Linked DNA regions of Homo sapiens: region 1 is linked to region 2. Evidence: promoter capture Hi-C in 16 types of primary human blood cells and fetal thymus (Javierre and others, 2016). All regions are on one chromosome and are shown on one strand. The core of a region is centred on a gene start or on the middle of the fragment in contact, and the rest is flanking DNA. Distances in the headings are between cores, read along the strand shown.

Evidence for each region. The method cuts DNA at HindIII sites, captures the fragments that hold promoters and counts their contacts. A CHiCAGO score of 5 or more calls a contact.
Region 1: a fragment that was not itself captured here is called in contact with the fragment with the promoter of NECAB2 in region 2 in 2 of 17 cell types (M2 macrophages and megakaryocytes); the score reaches 5.3 in M2 macrophages.

The regions. Positions count from the first base shown.
Region 1 is chr16:84,444,515-84,448,802 of GRCh38, forward strand. It overlaps ATP2C2 (ATPase secretory pathway Ca2+ transporting 2), which reads left to right. Exons shown (of 27, transcript NM_014861.4): 16 at 1,815-1,916; 17 at 4,019-4,175. Among named protein-coding and RNA genes, the nearest start is that of ATP2C2-AS1, 21 kb to the right of the region's middle. The HindIII fragment of the contact is 223 bases long and covers 2,885-3,107 here.
Region 2 is chr16:83,965,816-83,970,266 of GRCh38, forward strand. NECAB2 (N-terminal EF-hand calcium binding protein 2) reads left to right here and starts at 2,429. Exons shown (of 13, transcript NM_019065.3): 1 at 2,429-3,034. The coding sequence starts at 2,834. It overlaps OSGIN1 (oxidative stress induced growth inhibitor 1), which reads left to right. Exons shown (of 6, transcript NM_182981.3): 6 at 1-517. The coding sequence ends at 192. RefSeq lists a silencer at 2,305-2,494. The HindIII fragment of the contact is 14,372 bases long and covers 1-4,451 here.

The DNA of each region.
Region 1 (4,288 bases), core at 1,746-4,245, 480 kb after region 2:
CATTCACAGAAGAGAATTCTCTCTGCAATGTCTGTAATAGTGAATGGAGCTCATTTCCCGTTTTAAAATAGTGCTGAGTCTGCCCCATTCAACAACTCCTCGCCGCCCAGAAGGGAAGGTGCCGGCCTGACCGCCTGGCAGGAATGACACCCATGTGTCACCTTGCTTCCGCCACCAGCCGTCCCTGCAGCCTAGAGAGGAGAGAGGTTCCAGCACCCAGAAGAGATTTCCTTGATGTGTTATAATTTTCCTTTTTCCTGGGGCCTGGCTTAAGATTTTGGAATACAGAACAAACACTGGCTGGCATGTAGGAAGTGCTGCCTGTGTGACAGGCATGGGGCAAGCACTTTGTGGTTCTTACCTGTCTCACCTGCTCTAAATGGCACTGAGGCCAGGCCAGTGGTTCCCGGGCTTTTCTTCCATTATTGCTCCTGGATTAGGGTCTTGGGGTTACTGAAATAAAACACCACTGGCTGGTGATTTAGTGTAACCAAAACACACTGAAACACAGCTCTGTGGCCAGAAGTTGAAATCAAGGTGTGAGCAGGGCCAGGCTCCGTCTCCCAGTTTCTGGGTGTTACTGGCAGCCCCGGGCGTTCCTTGACTCGCAGACGCATCCCTGCCTTGGTCTCTCACACCAAGCTCTGTCTCTGTCACGAGGTGCTCCCCGCCACGCCTCTGCGCAGCGTTTTCCTCTTTTTTTTTTTTTTTTGAGACGGAGTCTCGCTCTGTTGCCCAGGCTGGAGTGCACTGGCTTGATCTCCGCTCACTGCAACCTCCGCCTCCCAGGTTCAAGCGATTCTCCTGCCTCAGCCTCCCAAGTAGCTGGGACTACAGGCGCCTGCCACCACGCCTGGCTAACTTTTTGTATTTTTAGTAGAGACAGGGTTTCACCATGTTAGTCAGGATGGTCTTGATCTCCTCACCCCGTGATCCACCCGCCTCGGCTGCCCAAAGTCCTGGGATTACAGGCATGAGCCACCATGCCCGGCCTTCCTCCTCTTATATCCAGTCATGTTGGCTTAGGGCCAACCCTAATAGCCTCAAATTGACGATATCTGCAAAGGCGCTATTCCAAATCAGGTCACATTCAGAGGTTCCGAGGTTAGGACTTCAACATATCTTTTGTGGGGTACAATTCAACCCCACTAAGGAGATGGTTTAGGCATTTCTTCCCTAATCACCCCACTCCCTCCCCATGAAATTTAATATGGTAGATACACTGTATTGTACGCATATCTGCACTTTCTACGTAAAAGGAGTAGTTTTTTGTGCCCCTGCTGCACCGCATTTTCACCCCCTGTGGGACAGTGGGATGCATGGGTCATGACTGGTTTACACCTGGGGAAACTGAGATTCTGAGTTGTCACATCACTGATCCAAAAGCCACCAAAGAGCAACAAAGGGCCAGGCTGGCAAGGACCCCAGGCTGTGGACGGGGGGCTGGCAAGGACCCCATGTTCTGGACGCAGGGCTGTCTCACTGACTCAGGGGGTTCCGTCTGAGAAATTGCTACACCTTCAAGTCTGAAACATTCCTCCCGGCAGAAACACTGCAGGTTTGTTTCTAAGCAGATTTCAGATAGAAGCTGTTGCAAAGACCGTCTTGTCTGCCCTTCAGCCAAGAGAAGAGACTTTTTTTTTTTTTTCTAGGTGGGACATTCCAAGAGAAATGGCCTTTTTTCTATGTGCTAAATGCTTGGATTTCTTATCTGCCAGAGGTGGTTTGAACAATGAATAATTTAAATGGACTGAGCTTTGTATAGAGATTGGCTTCGGATGACTCACTAAAAATGTGTCATTTTATTATGCTAGATGGACTTAAGTGATATTAAAAATTCATATATAAGAAAAAAAGAGATTCCATTCAGTTCAGAGCAGAAGTGGATGGCGGTGAAATGCAGTCTGAAGACTGAGGTGAGACCTTTCAATCTTCAACCTCTTCTCTCTTTCTGCCCGGGCCCCCACCCAGAGATAAAGCAAAATGCAGACTTCAAGGATAATTTGAAAGTTCCTGGCTGCTTCTGTGACGTTCCAAATACATGGAAAAACTTAATCACCATCATACCTTTGATTCTCTTGGGTCTGCTTCTGGCTTTTTGTTTAAAACAGAAGTTCTTAAAGCAGGGTCCCTGGAGTAGCAGCGGTTGTTACCACGCGAGACTTTATTAGAAATGCAGAATCTCAGGTTCCATGCCAGACCTCCTGAGTCGAAGGGTCCAGGGGTGGGACCCAGTAACCTTCATTTTCTGCAGATTCTGATGCAGGTGCAAATGTTGAGATCGACCAGCCTGTAATCCAGTGACTGAGGCCCTGCTGCTAACACCAGTCGCCAACTTGCCAGTCCTCTCTTTGCAGCCCTGTGCTAAGTTTTTTATACTTCTTAGCTCATCTCCCCGTCATACTGGGGAGCAAATCCTTCAGTACGGAAGGCGTGTCTGTGTGGTGCATCAGCGTGTGCACACGTGTTGTCCCTGGCTAGAGGAACACATACCAAGCTATGGCCACCCCGGGTGGACATTACAGCTGATTTTTAAAATTTTCTTTTCAGATTTGTTGTGGCTTTTCAGATTTTCCTTAAAAGCTATTTTTTAAAGTTTTTGTTGCCTTCTACCGTTTTCTCCACCCCTCCTCTTCCCTCCCACTCTTTCTAGAATCTATCATGTCTGCCCACGCAGACTGCTCAGCTCCCACTCAGGGCTGTGGGCAGCTCAGCCAGCTCATGCCAGGCCCTTCCTGTGCATGGATGGACACATGTACATTTCAGGGGCTTAGAAGGGATTATAGATTTTCAAAAAACTTTTAGACCTTTAAATCTTTTCCCTTGCAAGGCAATGGTAATATATTCTCATTGAAAAAGTATAGAAATATGACATAAAAATGAAAGCTTCTTTCATTCCACCCTTCTTCCCTCCCTCCCCACCACCCACCCAGAGGTAATTCTATTTTAAGTCTGGGATGGAGCATTGCAGATTTTAAATATGCAAACGACAACATCTGGATGGTATTTTCAAAACAAGGTCACTATTTATAGTGTGTGTAATTTGCTTTTTCCCCCTAAGATTTTCTTTTAATATTATGTCTTAGATGTCTGTGTTGGTTAATATAAGCTTGTTATATTAACATATTAATTATATAATATGTAATATATATTACATATATTACATATATTATTTAATATATATTATGTAATATATATTATAATTGTATAAGAATATATTAGTTATATATAATATATAATATACATATAAATAATATAATGTAATATAATACATATAAATAATATACAATACATATGTACTATAATTAATGTATTAACATCTGTAATTAATATTATATTTATTAATAACATTAATATGTTAATTACATATTAATAACATATATAATTAATATTATATTATCTTATAACAGTGTTACATTCACACTGTGCACCCACGTGAGCCAGGTATGTCCGGTATTGAGGCTAGGGGTACAGTGTGACTCTCACTGACCCAGGGCCTCCCCCCGTGGAGTTCATAGTCTACATGTTTGTCATGACAGAGCTTAAGAAAAACACAGGAAAAATGATCAGCTACTCATGTGGCTTCACTATTACAAGCCAAGTGCTGGGGGTGGGTACAAAATAGACTTGGTGCTGCCCTAGGGAGGCAACAGTCTAATGGAAATATTCCCAGTTAATCACACCCCCAAAGGCACAGTCCCAGCTGGGATGATACCTCCCGTGCATGAAACATACAAGACGCTCTGAGTGACCATAACAAGGGAACTGAAAAAAGAACAAGGGTAGTACAGGTTGAAGATTGGCCTTGTTCTTTCTCTGGACTGCAAAACGTTCCATGGATGGATTCTAGAACTTCGCGAACCTGTCCAGCACCTGTGAACAGCACCAGCCTATGATAAATAACTCCGCTGCAAAGATCCCCGTGTGTGTCTTTGTAACCTTGTGCAGAGTGGGGTGATGGTCAGTATGAACCAAGGCTTCCAGTGATAGTGGATTTCTTCCCTTTGTCTTTTCTAAGGATCAGGAAGACATTTACTTCATGAAAGGGGCCTTGGAAGAGGTGATCCGCTACTGCACCATGTACAACAACGGGGGCATCCCCCTGCCGCTGACGCCCCAGCAGAGGTCATTCTGCCTGCAGGAAGAGAAGAGGATGGGGTCGCTCGGTTTGCGGGGTCAGTGCCTGTGGTCCCGGCCCAGAGCTTTAAGCTTGCATGTAACATTGACTTTTAAGTGCATTCAAGCAGGGTCCCTAGTCAAGGAGGTCACCCGTCCCAAGGAGTCAGGC
Region 2 (4,451 bases), core at 1,179-3,678:
GATCCTGACCAGCCGCTGAGCGCCAAGAGGAACCCCATTGACGTGGACCCCTTCACCTACCAGAGCACCCGCCAGGAGGGCCTGTACGCCATGGGGCCGCTGGCCGGGGACAACTTCGTGAGGTTTGTGCAGGGGGGCGCCTTGGCTGTGGCCAGCTCCCTGCTAAGGAAGGAGACCAGGAAGCCACCCTAACACTCGGCCAGACCCGCTGGCTCCCAGGCCCTGAGAGGACAGAGATGACCACATCCCTGCTGGATGCAGGACCCGTCCAAAGATGCCCCGGGGAGGGGTGTCAGCCCACGTTGCTGGCCTTTGGGGTCAAGAGGAGTAGGGATCCCAGGCTGCCCTGGACTTAGACCAGTGTCTGAGGTGGTAACAGCGGCCGCAGGCCAGGGTTGGCCTAGACCTGGGATTTGTGGGGAAAGCTGCTGGTGTGACCAGCTGAGCACCCAGCCAGGAGACCTGCAGCCCTGCGCCTTCCAGAAGCAGGTCCCAAATAAAGCCAGTGCCCACCTGCTCTCATGCGTCTGAGGACTCTGTGCTCGGAGGGAGCTGCGTTCCCGGAACCCTGCACTGGGCTGGGGGGAAGGGAGGAAAGGGGATTGTGGGAGGAGTCCTGGGGCATGTGGTCCTGGATGAGGTCCATGGCTGGGGCCTTGGGGTACAAAGGATGGTGCCCCAAGTGTGGGGGCAGTTGAGCGGGCAGCTGTACTAGAGTCTGGGGGTGGGAGTGGCGGGTGTGTGCAGGCAGTGATGTCCAGGAGGGCGCTGCAGCCCCGCCCCCTCCGCAGCCTGTCCCAGGCCTCCCTCCTCTCTGTTCTGCCATGCGGCCTCCTTTCAGTCCCTCCTGCTGGCCAGGTCTCTGCCTGCCCCAAGGCCTTTGCACAGAGAGTCCCCAGCCCAGGACAGTTTCCCGCCTTTCTTTAACTCCTTTTCCTTGGGATGTCTCAGCATAAGAATCACTTCCTCTAGGAAGCCTCTTCTGACACAAACCCCTCCACTGCCGTCACAGCAAATACTCCTTTCATGGTCTAAGGTGCTACCTTTTCATAGCAGTGCAGTTTTTTTTTCTTTTTTTTGAGACAGAGTCTCATTTTGTCACCCAGGCTGGAGTGCTGTGGCGCTTGGTTCACTACAACCTCTGCTTCTGGGTTGAAATGATTCTCCTGTCTCAGCCTCCCAAGTAGCTGGGATTACAGGTGACTGCCACCTCGCCCAGCTAGTTATTGTATTTTTAATAGAGACGGGGTTTCACCATGTTGGCCAGGCTGGTCTTGAACTCCTGACCTCAAGTGATCCGCCCTCTTTGGCTCCCCAAAGTGTTGGTATCACAGGCATGAGCCACCACACCCTTCCAGCAGTTCAGTTTTAATTGTTCATTTGTTTGTGGAATCATTTCAGTGTTTGGCTCTGCCCACTTGGATGTAAGCTCCAGGAGCTCTGGGAGACCAAGTACACCATCTGTTTTGCCCATTGCTGGAACTCCGTGGTTGGGCACCTGCCTGGCACCTAGTGGGTTCTCCTTAATTCATCTTTTAAATGGATGGGTGGATGGATGGATGGGAGGATGGGTGGGTGGGTGGACAGATGGATAGATGAGAGGATGGTTGGATGGATGGGAGGATGGTGGGTGGGTGGATGGATGGATGGATGGATGGGAGGGAGGGGGGTGGGTGGGTGGGTGGATGGATGGGAGGGAGGATGGATGGATGGATGGGAGGGAGGGAGGATAGATGGATGGATGGAAGGATGGTGGGTGGATGGATGGGAGGGTGTGTAGGTGGGTGGATGGATGGATGGATGAGAGGGTAGGGGGGTGGATAGATGGATAGATGGGAGGGTGGGTGGGTGGATGGACAGACAGATGGGCGGGCGGGCAGATGGATGGACGGATGGATGGATGGATGGATGGATGGATGGATGGATGGATGGGAGGGTGGATGGATGGATGGATGGAGGGTGGATGGATGGATGCCAGGGAGGGAGGATGAGTGGGTGGGTGAATGGATGGATGGATGGGAGGATGCTGGGTGGGTGGATGGATGGATGGATGAATGGTTGGGAGGGTGGGTGGATGGATGGACGGACAGTCGGCCGGCCGGATGGATGGATGGGAGGATGGGTGGATGGATGTATAGATGGATTGATGGACGGGTAGGCAGGTGGATGGATGGATGGATGGATGGACGGACAGGTGGGTGGGTGGATAGATGGATGGGTGGATGGAGTATGAAGGAAAGATGTTCTGGGGTGAAGACTGGTTCTGGGCGTTTTGTAACCAAGGGGGCGGCCTGAGGGGGCGTGCACGCCCGCGGGAGTTAAGGATGGGCGCCCGCGGGCGTGACGGGGCCGCGGGGCGTGGGCGCCGCTCCCCGGGGCTGGAGCCGGCAGAGGGCGCTCCGGGCTCGCTGGACACCCGCGCTTCGGCCTCTGCTGCGCGCCGCGAGTGGGAGGGGGGACTTTAGAAGCGGGGAGAGCAGGAGACTTTTGGGGAGCAGGCCCCAGGGGCGCCGCCCCGCCCCCAGGCCCCACATACCCCTCCCCTCCGGGTAGCCCCCTCTGTGGCTGCGCCCGCGCCCCTCGCCCCGGCGGGCAGTCCTCAGGCCCCGCGCCCGGCCGGCGGGGGTGGGGGCGGCGGGGAGCGGGCACGTGGCTCGGGGTCCGGCCGGCCCGCCCCCCGGCGCCGGCCAGTCCCCGCGGTGTCCGCGGCCGCGGGGGCAGCGGGAGAGAGGGCGGGGCGGCGCGGGCAGCGCGGGGAGGGGGTCGCGCGGGGGCGGGCCGCAGCTGGGCGGGGGTCGGCGGGCTTCCGGGCGGCGGCGGCGGGCGCGGCGCGATGTGCGAGCGGGCGGCGCGCCTGTGCAGGGCCGGCGCGCACAGGCTGCTCCGGGAGCCGCCGCAGCAGGGCCGGGCGCTGGGCGGGCTGCTGCGCTGGGTGGGCGCCAGGATGGGCGAGCCCCGGGAGTCGCTGGCCCCCGCCGCCCCCGCGGACCCCGGCCCAGCCTCGCCGCGCGGGGGCACCGCCGTCATCCTGGACGTGAGTACGCGCCGGCCGGGACCCCCGCCGTGGCCTCCGCTGGGACCCGGAGCCCCCTCCGCCCCTCGGGCGGACCCCGACGCCGCGACCCGCGAGGCCCTCCCTACCCGGGCAGGAGACCCCCGGCCCCTCCGCGTGCCGGAGCGGGAGCCCCCAGCCCCGCCACGTCCAGGCCGGTCTCCAGCCCAGTCCTCTCCCTGGACCGGGAGACCCCCCTCCTCCGCCCCTCCACCGGCGCTTCTCGGAGTCCCTGCCTGCCCACAGTGGGGAGCCGTGAGCCCCCGGACCCGGCCACTGTCCCCCTAGTTTTGTCCAAGCCAAACCCCCACCCTTTACCCCGCGGGACCGGAGCCCCTCGCCGCGTCCAGCCGCCTCCTCCTCTCCATCCCGGATCCTGTCCGGAGCGATACTTTTCTGAGACCCCTAACAACCCCTACCTCTAGCCCACCTCTCTTCGCCCTAGACCCTGAGCCCCCGTTCATCTCACGCTCAAAGACCCTTTGCCCCAGCTACTGCCACTTTAAAAGTGAAGCCCCCTCCCCACCTTCTGTCTTCTCGTCTCCTTTCCATTGAGCCAGAGCCATCGCCCATCAGCCCTGAGCTGGTACCCCTCTGGTCTTCCCCACCCCGCCCCCTTCCATTCCAAGTCCTCTGTTCCCTTCCCCACACCCCTCTACCCTACAGAGAGCTGGGTCCTCTTCATGGACCAGACTCACCCCTCACCCCTCCTAACTCCCCTGGGACCCAAATCACCCATCTCTGGGAAGCCCACCTCACCCTCCCACCCGCCCCACCCGGGAGGGAGGAATCTTCAGGGGGCGGCTCGGAGGAGGAGGACTTCTCCCAGCAGAGAGTGCTAGGAGGAGGTGGAGGAGGCTTCTGGGGATGTTGACTGCGTGTTTCAGCGAGGGTCCTGCTGGGGTGGGGCTGGGGGCTGCCTCTGCCTGTGTGGTGGATTTCTGGGAGAGTGGTGGGTGTGTGTGAATGTGCACACGCGTGTATCGCGGATCCCTGTGAGTCGGGGGATTCCCTCCCTTCCTCTCTCCTCTTCCCTGCTCCTGGAACCCTTGGCCGGGGTCTGGGCTGGGAGGGCCGGCCAGAGCAGGGGGAGCTCTAGAGTGCCACACTCGCAGGCACACATTCACACACTCACGCACTCGCTTACGCACGCACACACAGCCAGAGACACACCCATGCAGCCAAACCATCCCCTCCTCAGGACCCCCGCAGAGCTCCCACTGAAAGTCCTGGGCAGAGCCCTGCAGCCCCAAGCTGCCCTGCATGGAAGCCCTGCCCAGTCAGGGTGGGGGCTCTGAGGTTCCATCTCCTCACCTGCCAAAAGGAGTGATGAGCGGGGGGTGGGGCGGGAGGTGCTCATGCAGACTCCTGGAGCTGGCTGACATTACCAGGTGTCAGC